4 separate regions of the Homo sapiens genome follow, and regions 1, 2 and 3 are each linked to region 4. The links are contacts of gene promoters, found by promoter capture Hi-C in blood cells and fetal thymus (Javierre and others, 2016). All regions are on one chromosome and are shown on one strand. Each heading gives the region's core, a stretch centred on a gene start or on the middle of the fragment in contact. The rest is flanking DNA. Distances are from core to core; before and after follow the strand shown. Region 1 overlaps TXNDC12 (thioredoxin domain containing 12). Region 2 holds the start of NRDC (nardilysin convertase). Region 3 overlaps BTF3L4 (basic transcription factor 3 like 4). Region 4 holds the start of CZIB-DT (CZIB divergent transcript).

Region 1 (3,144 bases), core at 404-2,903, 1.2 Mb before region 4:
CAAATGTATCTATAGTCTGGTTTTAATTATAAAATATGTACAGAGAAAAGAGCCTAAAAGAAAATGTACCAAAACATAATAATAGCAGTTTTCTGTGGATGATGGGACTGTGGATGTTTTCCTTACACTACATCTGTATTTCATGATTTTTCTACAATATAATTTTCATAATCAGGGAGGAAACTGTTCACAATGAGCAATGCAATCCACCCGAACCAGACTGGCTAGAGGAAGCTCTTAAGCTCTCAAGGCTCAAATGACAGTAGGAAGACCCCATGTAAGTAGGTAGCCATTAGCTTTCTCCATCACACAACCCCATGTCACCATAACAACATACACTGTATAATAGCTACCATGCACTTAACATATTGATCTGTACCTATTATTTACCCATCTCCCTCCACTGGACTTGGAGATTCCTAAGACAAGGAACTCTTAGCTGTCTCTATATCCTTTACATCTGACACATATATTATTGATAGCAAACACTTATATACCATTTGCCATGTGCCAGGCACTACTGTAAATATACATAAATTAACTCATTTAATAAGTGTCAAATGAATCATTCAGTCACCTCACCTTAGGCCTACCTCACATCTGGATGGACTTCTGCCTGCAATACTTGTAAAAGCTTGTAAACCAAATGAGCAGGGCAAGTTTAGGTGGGTAGTAGGATATAGGTAACCATAATAGCCAAAATGTGCTGAACGTTTATTATATGACATTGTGCTGTATATGCATTATCTCATTTAAATCCTCAAAATAACCCTAGGGTAGATACTATTAATGGTCTCACAATAGAAATGAGAAAATTGAGATGCTCAATAGAGTAAATATTTGGCCCCATAAAATCTAGGTTCTAGGCCGGGCACAGTGGCTCACACCTGTAATCTCAGCACTTTGGGAGGCCGAGGCTGGAGGATCACTTGAGCTCACAAGTCCAAGACCAGCCAGGGCAACATGGTGAAAACCTGTCTCTACAAAAAAATACAAAACTTAGCCGGTCGTGGGGTGCATGCCTGTAGTCCCAGCTACTCACAGCACTTCACTCCAGCCTGGGAGACAGCCAGACCTTGTCTCAAAAATAAATAAATAAAAAAAAATAAAAACCCAAAACAAAAACCTAGGTTCTGCCACTTACTAGCTAACTCAGAAGTCCGACTCCAAAACCAATGTTCTTTCTGACGGTTACAGTCTACTTCAATTTAGAATGGTAATCCAGAATCCATGGTTAGACCCAATTCAATCAATAACCAACTTAATGAAGGTTGGAAAAAGCCTTTTGAGTTTGCCTCATCCAGACTTCCATTTCACACATGAATCCTGTTTATCAGAAACAAAAGGTAGTATAGATTACCTGATGAGCAAGGAATATACCATCAACCAAGGCAGCCCATCTACCCTCTCTTTTAACAGCTCCATAGTTTCAGAGCATGCATGTTTTCGAATGTCTTGCTTTCTCTTTTCTCCCTGGCAAACATCTGTTTATCCTTCTAGAGCAGGGGTTGGCAAACTAGGGTCTGCAGGCCAAATCCAGCCCACCGTCTGCTTCCGTAGGGCCCATGATATGCAAATATTTTGTTGTATATTTTTACATTTTTCAATGTTTGCAAAGCAAATCTAAAGACTCCTTTGTGATATGTTAAAATTAATTGTAATTCACATTTCAGTGTAGTTTTATTAAAATACATTCATGCTTATTTGTTTACTTACCATCTATAAGTAGCAACAGCATTTGATGGTCCACAAAGCCTAAAACATTTACCATTTGGCCCTTTACTGACTTTATTCTACAGTGATGGTTCAAATGTTAACTCCTCTTAAAACCTTTCCAAAACCACCTCCCCCAACAGCTAGTTAGTCCTCTTCACCAGGTTTCCAAAGCATTTTGTCTTTTGTCATCATCCTCTGACCACCAGCCCATTTCATCCTATCTTTTTTTTTTTTTTTTTGAGATGGAGTCTCCTTCTGTCACCTAGGCTGGAGTGCAGTGGCGCGATCTCGGCTCACTGCAACCTCCGCCTCCCGGGTTCAAGCGATTCTCCTGCCTCAGCCTCCTGAGTAGCTGGGATTACAGGCACGTGCCACCACGCCCGGCTAATTTTTGTATTTTTAGTAGAGATGGGGTTTCACCATGTTGGTCAGGCTGGTCTTGAACACCTGACCTTGTGATCCACCCGCCTTGGGCTCCTGAAGTGCTGGGGTTACAGGCATGAGCCACCGCACCCAGCCTAATTCTATCTTTTACTTGTATTTCTCACCACATATCTCTTTTTGTTTGTTTTTCAAGACCCAGTTTCACTGCTGCCCAGGCTGGAGTGCAGTGGTGCGATCTCAGCTCACTGCAACCTCCACCTCCCAGGTTCAAGCGATTCTCGTGCCTCAGCCTCCAGAGTAGCTGGGATTACAGGCACACCATCACGCCCAACTAATTTTTGTACTGTTAATAGAGACGAGGTTTTGCCACGTTGGCCAGGCTGGTCTCGAACTCCTGACCTCGATTTTGGACTCCCAAAGTGCTGGGATTACAAGTATGAGCCACCACACCCGGCTTCTCACCACATATCTCAAGAGCAAAAACACTGTATCTAATTGGTCTTTGAAAATCACAGCCACTGTTAAAGTAGGTACCTACCATTTGTTCAATGAAATCAATGAAGAATGAAAGACAAGCTTACAATGATATTTGCCTTGAAATGCAGAATGAAGCAAAACAGTTACGGAAATTGTCATAATATAATTACTGTAGAGTAGCTCAAAACATCTACTCTCTCAGAACTATCAAAATACTACTTCACTTAAAGGCAGAACAATGACAAGTATACCTAAAATGTTACATGAAGTTACACAGGGAACATTAAGTGAAAGAGATTCCAGTAGACTATTTTAAAAGATTTTATTAGAGGAAATAATCTAGTAGATAACTTTCTTACTTCCACAAAAACAAAGTTTCTCAAGGATACAAACCAATGGATTTATCTGTGAACTCGGTCCCAGAATAGAAACTAGCAAAAAGTCAGTACAGTACTCAAAAAATACTTTTGTGGTATGAAAAAAGGGCAGGTGCAGATGTAGAACTGTACCATCTTCAGTTTCTGTTCACAATTGTTTTAAAACAATTCTCATCTATCCAGTCTGCTC
Region 2 (3,393 bases), core at 339-2,838, 1.3 Mb before region 4:
GATCGCGCCACTGCACTCCAGCCTGGTGACACAGCAAGACTCCGTTTCAAAAAAAAAAAGGAAATCAGCAAATGATACACTGAATTTGGTGTCAGATAGTAGGGGTCATCATACCAGCTCTGTTATTATTTAGCTGTGTGATTCAGAGCAAGAAGCAAACTCTTTGGGTCTCAATTTCCTCAACCTGTTCAACGAAGTTATTGGACAATATGAACTCTATTTAAAATACATCAAAGTCCAGGCCTGGCACAGTGGCTCACGCCTGTAATCCCAGTACTTTGGGAGGCCAAGACAGGAGGATTCCCTAAGCCCAGGAGTTTGAAATTAGCCTGGGCAACATCGCAAGACCCAGACTCTTATTAAAACACACACGCACACACACACACGCAAGATACATCATAGTCATGATACTCCATGAAATAAGCTACCTCTGAAGGAAAATACTCAGGTGGGGACTGAATCACCAATTATTAGAAATGTTTAGAGAACTCCTGTACAAACCAAAAGTAGAGAATTTCAAGGTTAGAAGAAACCTTACAACTCACCCAACTGAGACCTAAGCCCTCTCTAATATATTCCTGGACGAGGTCGCCCAACCGTTTTGGTAATGGAGAACTACCCATGGAAACAAGTCACTTCAACTTAGGCCAAATATGATGCAAAGTTACTTTACTGAAGCCACACCATCCTCTGGTAACTTTCGTCCACTAGTTTCACCTATCACTTAAGTGTCCCTCAAATATTTTGGATAGTGATAATATGCCCCTTAAATATCCTGTCCTCCAAATTAAAGTATCCAACTCCGTCAACCTTTCCTGGTAACATAATACCAAGACTCCCTCACCATTCAGGCTGCGTTCCTCAAAGAAACCTTCATTCTTGCTTTAGCGACTGTATTCAAATGACTCGAAAAGCTTCTCCCATTCTGACGTCTTACAACCCAAGATCTCCCACTTGCCCAGCTGACACCACAGGGAAGCCTCTAATCACGCTTGCCACCTCCACCCAAGGAAGCATTTGGGGTGGAAAGTGTGCCCTGTTGCTCCATTGGGAGACATGGAGACAAGAAGTGACGGCGGCACCGACAGAGAAGCCGGCACACTGTTCGCCTCCCCATTGCAAGCCTCCTCCCTCACCGGTATTGCTTGGGGTCGCTGGGAGACTTGACGATCTCAGGGTCCCCAGCATTACTGAGAGACCCCCTCCGTCCCTCTTCCTCAGATTCATCCGCTCCTAGACGGGCAACCCGGCTGTTCTCGCCCAGATCCTGTCCATTGGGCTGCAGGTCAGGGCAGCTGCAGGTAGACTTCGCCTTGTTCCTTCCAGGCATGGCCAGAATAGGAAAGGGTCTGGCAGCAGCAGAGTCTTCGCACCGACCCCGCGTTTCGATTCCCCAGAGCGCCGCGAGCTCCCGCCCGGCCTCACACAACTTCCTCCGGGTGGCACAGACTGCAGCAACAGTGACTCTCCTCAGCATTCACCACCAAGCTGGAGCGATGGACATCCCGCTTCCCAGGACCCACCTCCTCCGCGTTCTAGAGGCGGTGGCGGCCGGCCCTGGTGCTGCCGCAGCCGCGGGGAACAGGCCTGAACCCCTCCCCCAACCCAGTCTCCCTCTCGCCGACTTCCCTCGTCCCTCCGCCCTCCCGGCCGCCGATGACGCTACTGATTTCAGCCAATCATGAGGCAAGAAAGTAGTCACGCTCACGTAAGCAACCAATCAGAACAGGAAAGGAGAGGCACCAACGTGACCCGGACTGATTCTCGGAACAGCCAGCGAACATTTCGAAACCCAAAGTGGGCGGGGCGAGGGAGAAGAAGCGGAGAGAGTGGCGCGGAGGACGACGGGAGAAGGGCCCCCGGCGCGTTTATGACGTACGAGTGTGTTTTGTGGAAACCACTGAGTAGTGCTCCGCGTGTCAAAGAAAAATATTCCCCTAATGAGAAAACTGAGAAACGAGTGCAGAGAATTAATTCCAAAGTTTTAAATTTTCCCATTCGTGTCATAGTTTGGGTACCCTACTCCTCAGACCCGGGGCGAGCCTTCGGCTGTGACTCAGCACATAAAAAACCAGAACGCCGGAAGTATTTTCCTACACCCGCCGGATGGACGCTGCTCCCGAGCGCCGCAAATACTAATTGGCTCTTCTCTACCCTACAGTCGGCCCGACAGTGGTGGGGTTTCATCCTCAAGCCCTAAGAAAGTGCTAAAAAGACCAGTCTGGATGTGCTAACTCTTCTGTGTGAAAACGTTTTTTAGCTCCTCCAGCCTCCTGTTAAATTCGGCCAATTTTTATCGAGCAGCTGCAGCGTCTGCTGCCTTCAAGTCTCCTTTCCCAGTTTTTCCCGCTAGCAGTGGTCTTTGGTTAGCAATGTAAAATGTGACGGAAATACAAACATAAATGAAAGCTAAAAAGCAGCTGAAATTAGTAAGATGCACTATACTGACACCATGGGGTAAGAGATCATAGCTCATACATACGAATGAGCGGGGAAAGACGTGAAGCAGGGAGATGTGTTGATAGTTACTGTATCTTCAAGGTTTTCGAGGCCTCTTCTGAGTTCCAAATGCAAGGAATACAACCATGAACAAAACAAAACTTGCCTTAGGCTGGGCGTGATAGTGATAGCTCACACCTATAATCCTAGTACTTTGGGAGGCCGAAGCGGGAGGATTGCTTTGAGCCTGGGAATTTGGTACCAGCCTGGACAACATGGTGAGACCCCCGTCTGTACAAAATTCTTTTTTAAAATTAGCCAGGCTTGGTGATGCGTGCATGTGGTCCCAGCTACTCAGGAGGCTGAGGCAGGAGGAACGCTTGAGTCCAGGAGGTCGAGGCTGCAGTGAGCCGTGATTGCAACACTGCACTCCAGCCTGGTTGACACAGTGAGACCCTGTCTAAACAACGACAACAAAAATTTAAAGCCTTGCCTTGGGGGAGCTTGCATCCTAATGGGAAGGAACTGTAAAATATGTAAACTAAAGTAAATCAGGCTTTTAAATAATTCAAGTTAGCTTTCTTCAGAAGTCTTATTGAGGACTGCCACCTGGGAGAGTCAGAGAGTTTTTTTTTTAGACTGCTCCAAAGCAGTGTTTCAGCCCGCAGCTTCTATACAGGTGGTGGCCGCTCTGCATGTGCTTGGAAGTTAAATCAAATGTGCTCAGAAAGGCTGGGCCTGTAATCCCAGTGATTAAGGAGGCTGAGGCAGAAGGATTGCTTGAGGCCAGGCATTTACAACCAGCCTGTGTAACATATCAAGACTCTGTCTCCACACACACATAAAAAAGCAAGGCGTGGTAGAACATCCCTGTAGTCCTAGCTACAGGAGAGGCAGAGTTAAAAGGATTGCTGGGACTCCTGAGTTTGAGGTTACAGTGAACTATGATTGTGC
Region 3 (3,429 bases), core at 803-3,302, 1.2 Mb before region 4:
ACAGATAGGAATGATGGGTGCAATAAAGTAGAGGTTGATTGAGAATAGAGAATTAAACCAGGTGATCTTGGAGGTCTACTCCAGATTCTGAGCTTGACATCGCATAGACTGAGTCCAGTCCTCTTTCCTACTTGAATTCCACACACCACAACTTGCCAAGAAACAAAAGACTACTCTTGTTCCTCCCCTACTGCCTTGAGCTCTCAGTCTCCCTAAAATCATTTTTCTCTGAGATACTCCTTAGGAACAAAATTTCTCAATTCTGTTGTCCTGACCACCTGGAATGGAATCTGTTCTTTCATCTATACCTTGATTTGAAGAGTTAATTTTGTTCTTGCTTTTATTTCAAACAAGTCAAGACTTTGTCTTGGCATCCCAACCTCTGTCTGTTCTCTTGGGAATTGTTACTTCAAAATGCAGAAGAATCCCAAAGGGTTTACCAAGTATCTAGGTCTAATGTTTTTCCTTAGCCCCTTTTTTTTTGCAATAAATTCCTTTGGCTCTTTGTTAGTTCACTACACTCTCATGGCCACATTCCTTTGAGAAAAGTGAATGTTGGTCCTTTTCTGTGGATATTTGAGCATAGGAATTGGGATTTAAGTCATCAAATTTAAGTCTATGGCAGAGCTAAGATTGGCACACATTTAAGACTTCTTGTTTTGGACTCTAAACACACTTCCTCCTATAAAAGTGTTTTTAGCTGCTTCAGCATTGTGATACAGCGCTGAGCAGAGTGAAGAATCATAAATTCTAAATATTATTTGGGATCTGGACATTAGCCTTAAAGAAGAGATAGATATATAGGTTATTGCCTAAGGATAGTGTCAAAGTACAAAATGGTTAGTAATTATATAGTCTTTGATGCTGCTTTTTTTAATCTCTCAAATGAAGCAAACAGTATTTTTTTCATGTGAATGATGACTATACAGGGTTTAGAGAATTGGCCAAAGAAGATTTGATAACAACCTAGTCCCTTATTCCCTCCCTCACATCTCAGTAATGATTTGTTGATCTGCAGAACAAGTAAAACAAGACTTTTAATTTGGCTTTTTTTTTTTTTTGAGACGGAGTTTCGCTCTTGTTGCTCAGGCTGGAGTGCAATGGCATGATCTTGGCTCACCGCAACCTCCGCCTCCCGGGTTCAGGCGATTCTCCTGCCTCAGCCTTCTGAGTAGCTGGGATTACAGGCATGTGCCACCACGCCCGGCTAATTTTGTATTTTTAGTAAAGACAGGTTTCTCCATGTTGGTCAGGCTGGCCTCGAACTCCCGACCTCAGGTGATCCATCCGCCTCGGCCTCCCAAAGTGCTGGGATTACAGGCGTGAGCCACCGTGCCGGGCCTGAATTTGGCTTTTCTTTGTTTATGTAATGTGGAATGTGATGACCCATTATAAACTTAAGAATGTTTTTTTCTTAGTGGGATTATCACTGACCAGACTAGATTCATGACTATAATTTTAGAATCTTCAAAATCAAGATTAACTTTAAAAAGCTTGTTTTAGGAGTCTCCTCTCTGCCCCCCCCCAACATTTATTACTGTAGCAAAGATATGTTTTTGTTAAATTGTGCAATGAAGCATTTTACCCTGTATGCAAGAATGTCTTGACAAGTATAACATACTATATCAGTGCAGGGTATTGAATGAACTCTGGAGAGTGCTGCAGAAGCACCAAATGTCTGAAAACCTGGTTCTCTTTCCCCATTATTAACATACCATCTGACCTTGAATAGAGGACATGACTACTTGATATCTTGACAGCTAGACAGCCTTTTGTTGAATTTCTTCTTTGTTCAGCTTTTTTTTCCTTTTGTCATCTTTATGGTTTATAAGAAATACAGAATGTGATTTGGGAGGAAAAAAATCTACTTGAAGATTTTGCTAATAACATTTGGTAACAGCTCTCTGCTGTAAAAATCTTTGGGGGAAAAAAACTGGCTTGCCTACAGAGATTTCATAATTGGTTAGGCTTAACTGAATGCCAAAGGATTGAATCATGTTTTAAGGAGGGATCTTTGAATAGGTGACTTTGAATCCCATTCTACTTTCTGTTTGTATATTTGATTCCCTCATGGTAATTTAATTTTGATTTTTAAAAATATCTGGTTTATGAAGCTAGAACAAGTTATTAATGTTTATTAAGAATATAGACAGTATTAATATGGTCATGGTGTTGATGCATACTACAAGCTCAGTGAACCAGAAGGTACTGTTGCATAAACAGTTTGTTAATTTCGGCAAAAGAGTGACTTTAACAAATCTATTTTTCCCCCCCTAGATTTACCAACAGCATGAATCAAGAAAAGTTAGCCAAACTTCAGGCTCAGGTCCGGATAGGGGGCAAGGTGAGTGTGGCATAAGAAAAATTGATAGGAGAATGTATGATTACCAGATAGTGTTATTATTTCGGATTTGTGGTCATTGAAAATCTAAAATCTTTTCAATAATCAAGATCAAACCACATTCCAATTTGAAAATAACTTGTCTAGATCTAAAATAGGTAACTAGAACACTTTTCTCTCTGATGATGCAATGGAAATAGCCACATTTGTTTGAATCCTAACTCTTACCATCTGCTAGTTATATGATGTGAACAAGTTATCCAACCTTGTTAAGCTTCCACTTTCTTATCTGCAAAATAGAAATAATCCTACATAAGGTGTTTAAAGATTAGGGTAATATTTATAAAACACCTAATGTGGTGTCTAGCACAGAGTAGATGCTTAATAAATTATAGCTATTATTATGGTTAGACTCACTTGCAGGGCATACCAGATGTTAGGGTTACTTTGTCTTGACTGGATGTTACCTACTTGTACAGAGGTTTAGCTGGAGATGCTTAAGTTGATTATATATTTTGTTCATTGCCAGGTTTTCCTCACAAATTCTTACCTGTTCTTCCATGTTGGTGAATATGAATATCAGCTTTCTTATTCCCTGTACTTTTTAAAGCCTAAGGAAGAACTAGTTGTGAGCAACTGAAGTCTTTGATTCTCTTCAGCTGTGGCACCAGGCTCAAGGAGAATATTCTACCCATATCTCTGCCCAACACAATCTTTGCAAAAGTGAAAGAAAGAATAGTACTTACCTCAGACCTGAAGTGGTAGGTAGGACACTACTTTTTGTAGTGGGTCCCACTGTGTCATTTACACTGATGATAACCACAGTTCCTGGGGATGAGCACAAGGGAAGGGAAGGGAAGAAGAGCCAGTACTTTCTCCTTCTCCCACAGTGATACAGTTATATGAGTCTGGAGTTAGAATAACACACTCATGTAACCACAGTAGTCACATTGTAGCATCAAGTGTGATGTGATGTGCCAATGCAGAAACTAGGGATATTCAAGAACCATAGAATATACCTAGAAGAGCTTGATGTACCACATCGCCATTGTGTATTTTAAAACTGTGGTTGGTACATTCGATTTAGC
Region 4 (3,422 bases), core at 293-2,792:
ATGTGTGTTTGTGAGTGTTTATGTTGGGGGTTGGGCGGGGAACAGTTACCATCAGCCGGATGTACTGCCACTTGTCCGAAATCTCACCACAGTTGCCACATTTCATCTTTGGGGAAAAAGAATGTTAGTAAAGCAGCTGGCTCTGCTGCACAGACACCAAGGAAAGGGTAAGAACAGTGGGAGGTGGGCAGGCTCATGATCTACCTTCTTGATGGCAATCTCACTTCATCCCTAACACCTGCCCCAACAAGGACAAAACTAGAACTATCTCTGGGCAAAGGATAGGTAAGGCTGTTTCCTATGCCGGCGTGCCCACCCTCCTCTATGAAGTGCTCAGTGTGGCCGGGGATTCAAGGCACCTGTGGTGCAGAAATGGTTTCAGCGGAGGTGAGGGGGGGGAATATGGAGAGATTTGTTAGAAGATACAAAATTACAGCTATATGGGAGGAATAAGTTCTAGTGTTCTATAGCACTGTAGGATGACTATAGCTGACAATAATATATAGTTTCAAATAGCTAGGATATTAAATGCTCCCAACACAAAGAAATGATACACGTTTGAGGTGAATATGCTAACTACCTTGATCTGATCACAATACATTACATTTATCGGAACATCACTATATACCCCATAAATATGTACAATTCTGTGTCAATTAAGAAAAAAAAAGAGAAATGGCCTCAGCAGGCCCCCGACCCACTCTGCTTGGTTAGCTTTATGTTCCCACAGGCCCTGTATGTCACTGGTATAAGCACTTATCACTCTATTGTTACTCTATTTTTCTGTCTCCTTCACTCGATTCCGCTTCTTCAAGCCAAAGAACAGATTCTCCCAAGTAAGCCCTGGTATTCAGGCTTCAAAATCCTGGGAAACAAAAGTAGTCCGGAGGCAGCTTCCCGAAAAACAGGGCTTTTGAGAGGTACAGAAGGATGCTGGGATTTTTGACCAGGAGTAAAACAGAGCAGAAGCTCTGGGATCTGGAAGAGTGAAGAGCCTCGAACTGCTGGGGAAGGGGAGGCCTCTGTAGACCATGCCACTAGGGTACCAGCTTTACCAGTGTGGGAGGGCTAAGGAAGGGTGGATTACGCACAAAATTAAACTATTTCACAATAAAGAAAACCAAATCAATAAACGAAAGGCGAACTATTCACCTTATTAAATAATCACAAGCGTCCCTTCAAGTAGCATTTCGTTTAGTGTCCATTTACAGACCACGAAATATTTAACACAGGGAAGAACTACAAAATGAAGCTTTCCAAGACTGCCAATTAGAGATAAACCAATACACTTTAATAGAAAGCAAACGTAAAATTCTAACTAGGAAAACCCCGAACACTTAATGTGCCTGGTTAAATATTTTCTCATACTGCCGGAGAGAAGGCTCCGGTTCAGCACTGAGATCAGGACGGGCCTCCTCTCCCCGGGCCCCGCCCCGGCCGCACCTTCAGGTACCACCGGAAGTCCTCGCCCACGGGCCGGAGGTTGGTGATGTTCTCCAGCGTGGCTTTGAGTTGCAGCGCGATTTTCTGAGGGGGAGGGCCAGAGCGACTGCGTCAGCCGTGCCTGCGCAGCCCCACGCCTGCCCGACCCTCCCGCATTCCCAGCCGTGGGTGCCACAGGGAGACACTCCTTCTGCCTCCTGCTCCTTCAGCGCGCACCCACTCGCTTCATCTCCTCCTGGCGCGAGCTGTTGCCTCCCAGACCCTCGCCACCTCCCCTCCGTGTCCCCGCGGCGGGCGGCCTCCCCTCACCCCCATGGTAGCCCTCTCCGCCCGGTGCTGGCTGCGGCCCTTGCCGTTGCTTTCCGGCGCGTCGTAAAAGGCGGGTGCCGTCTGCGCACCCTCAGTAGGGCGGGGCCGGGGCCGGGCCGCGGGGCAGGGACTTCTGCGCGCCGCTGCTCGCCTGGCCCACTGGGCTTTTCGCATCTGGGGATCTGGGGCCAGTGGAGGTCAGCCAGGTCCGCGAGCAACCTGTGCTCAGGCCAGCGGAAGCCTGACTCCAGGATTCGGTGGTGCCACAGACAGTTACTGAACGCCAATTTTGTGCCTGCTTTAAGCGAACAGGACAGTTCCTGACCCTCAGTTCTTTCCAGGCTCTTCACTACTCTGCCTGCCCTGGAACTTCTCAGATCACGTCAGCTCCCTCTGCCCAGGGGAAAAGCTACAAAAGGAAGAGTTCCAAGACTGCCAAATAAAGATAAACCAATACGCTTTAAAAAGTAGAATGTATTGGTTTATCAGATTTGGGGATGATGCCTTTCTTCAAACTGCCCTTTCCTGTTTCACCCAAGAGACCTGGTTTCTAGGCCCTTCTCCAGAGTTTGCCCTGTGTCCACATCCTTCTCACTGTGGTCCTTGCGACTGGACATTCCCCTTCAGCTGGCTCTTTTTTGGGAGCCCACCTGGCTTATCCTTCTCTCATAACGTTTATTGAACTTTATTTTACCTGGCCTCCTGTCCAGGCTACATCTGAGACCATGCAGGAGCTGTGGAGATTAACGGTAAAAGGAACAGCACATTCAAGACTCTTCTAGGAGGTGGGGCAAGATAGCCAAATAGAACCCTCCAGTGATCCTCCTCCTCCTCTTCCCTGGCAGGAACACCAAACTGAACAACTATCCACACAAGAAAGCACCTTCATGAGAACCAAAACTCAGGTAGCAATCACAGTAGCTGGTTGTAACGTCACATCAAGATATAAGGCAATGGCTGGGTGCGGTGGCTCACACCTGTAATCCCAGTGCTTTGGGAGGCTGAGGCGGGCAGACCACCTGAGGTCAGGAGTTTGAGACCTAGCTGGCCAACATAGTGAAACCCTGTCTCTACTAAAAATACAAAAATCAGCCGAGTATGGCAGTGCACACCTGTAGTCCCAGCTACTCCGGAGGCTAAGGCAGGAGAATTGTTTGAACCCGGGAGGTGGAGGTTGTAGTGAGCTGAGATCATGCCATTGCACTCTAGCCTGGGTGACAGAGTGAGACTCTATCTCATAAAAGAAGAAAAAAAAAGGAACAAGGCAATGAAGAGGGTAGGAAAGACAGTCTTGAATTGCTACCACCACCCCTCCCTCATCCTCTGGCAGCACCTGGCTGCCTGGCATAGAGAGAGAATCTGTGTGCTTATGGGACTTTGCATTGGAACTGAGTTTTGCCCTGTCACAGTGGAAAGCAACTCAGGGCAGAATTCAGCTAGTGCCCACAGAGGAAGCACTTAGAGAAACCCTAGCCAGAGGGGAATCATCCATCCCAGTGGTCAGGTTCTGGCGAGCCCCACCACCACTGGCTAAAGTGCTTCAGGGTCCTAAATAAATTCGAAAGGCAGTCTAGGCCACAAAGACTGCAATTCCTGGGCAAGTCCTGGTGCTGTGCTGAGCTCAGAGCCCGTGGACTTGGGGTGCACACAGCCTAGTGAGATACCAGTTG

What was found. The method cuts DNA at HindIII sites, captures the fragments that hold promoters and counts their contacts. A CHiCAGO score of 5 or more calls a contact.
Region 1: a contact is called between a fragment that was not itself captured here and the fragment with the promoter of CZIB-DT in region 4, in 1 of 17 cell types (fetal thymus). The highest score is 5.9, in fetal thymus.
Region 2: the fragment with the promoter of NRDC here is called in contact with the fragment with the promoter of CZIB-DT in region 4 in 1 of 17 cell types (fetal thymus); the score reaches 6.0 in fetal thymus.
Region 3: a fragment that was not itself captured here is called in contact with the fragment with the promoter of CZIB-DT in region 4 in 3 of 17 cell types (naive CD4 T cells, fetal thymus and total B cells); the score reaches 5.6 in naive CD4 T cells.

Annotation. Positions count from the first base shown.
Region 1 is chr1:52,029,223-52,032,366 of GRCh38, forward strand. The region is part of intron 2 of TXNDC12 (thioredoxin domain containing 12); the gene reads right to left. KTI12 (KTI12 chromatin associated homolog) reads right to left here. Exons shown (of 1, transcript NM_138417.3): 1 at 2,881-3,144. Among named protein-coding and RNA genes, the nearest start is that of KTI12, 3.0 kb to the right of the region's middle. The HindIII fragment of the contact is 2,042 bases long and covers 633-2,674 here.
Region 2 is chr1:51,877,139-51,880,531 of GRCh38, forward strand. It overlaps NRDC (nardilysin convertase), which reads right to left and starts at 1,589. Exons shown (of 31, transcript NM_001101662.2): 1 at 1,137-1,589. The coding sequence starts at 1,477. RefSeq lists enhancers at 1,579-1,873, 1,757-1,936, 2,327-2,880 and a silencer at 1,627-1,676. The HindIII fragment of the contact is 5,345 bases long and covers 913-3,393 here.
Region 3 is chr1:52,057,558-52,060,986 of GRCh38, forward strand. It overlaps BTF3L4 (basic transcription factor 3 like 4), which reads left to right. Exons shown (of 6, transcript NM_152265.5): 2 at 2,278-2,344. The coding sequence starts at 2,291. Among named protein-coding and RNA genes, the nearest start is that of BTF3L4, 3.0 kb to the left of the region's middle. The HindIII fragment of the contact is 1,122 bases long and covers 1,492-2,613 here.
Region 4 is chr1:53,218,818-53,222,239 of GRCh38, forward strand. CZIB-DT (CZIB divergent transcript) reads left to right here and starts at 1,543. Exons shown (of 1, transcript NR_185918.1): 1 at 1,543-3,422. CZIB (CXXC motif containing zinc binding protein) reads right to left here and starts at 1,817. Exons shown (of 8, transcript NM_017887.3): 1 at 1,753-1,817; 2 at 1,444-1,527; 3 at 50-106. The coding sequence starts at 1,758. RefSeq lists an enhancer at 1,218-1,719 and silencers at 1,589-1,958, 2,089-2,148. The HindIII fragment of the contact is 4,059 bases long and covers 1,251-3,422 here.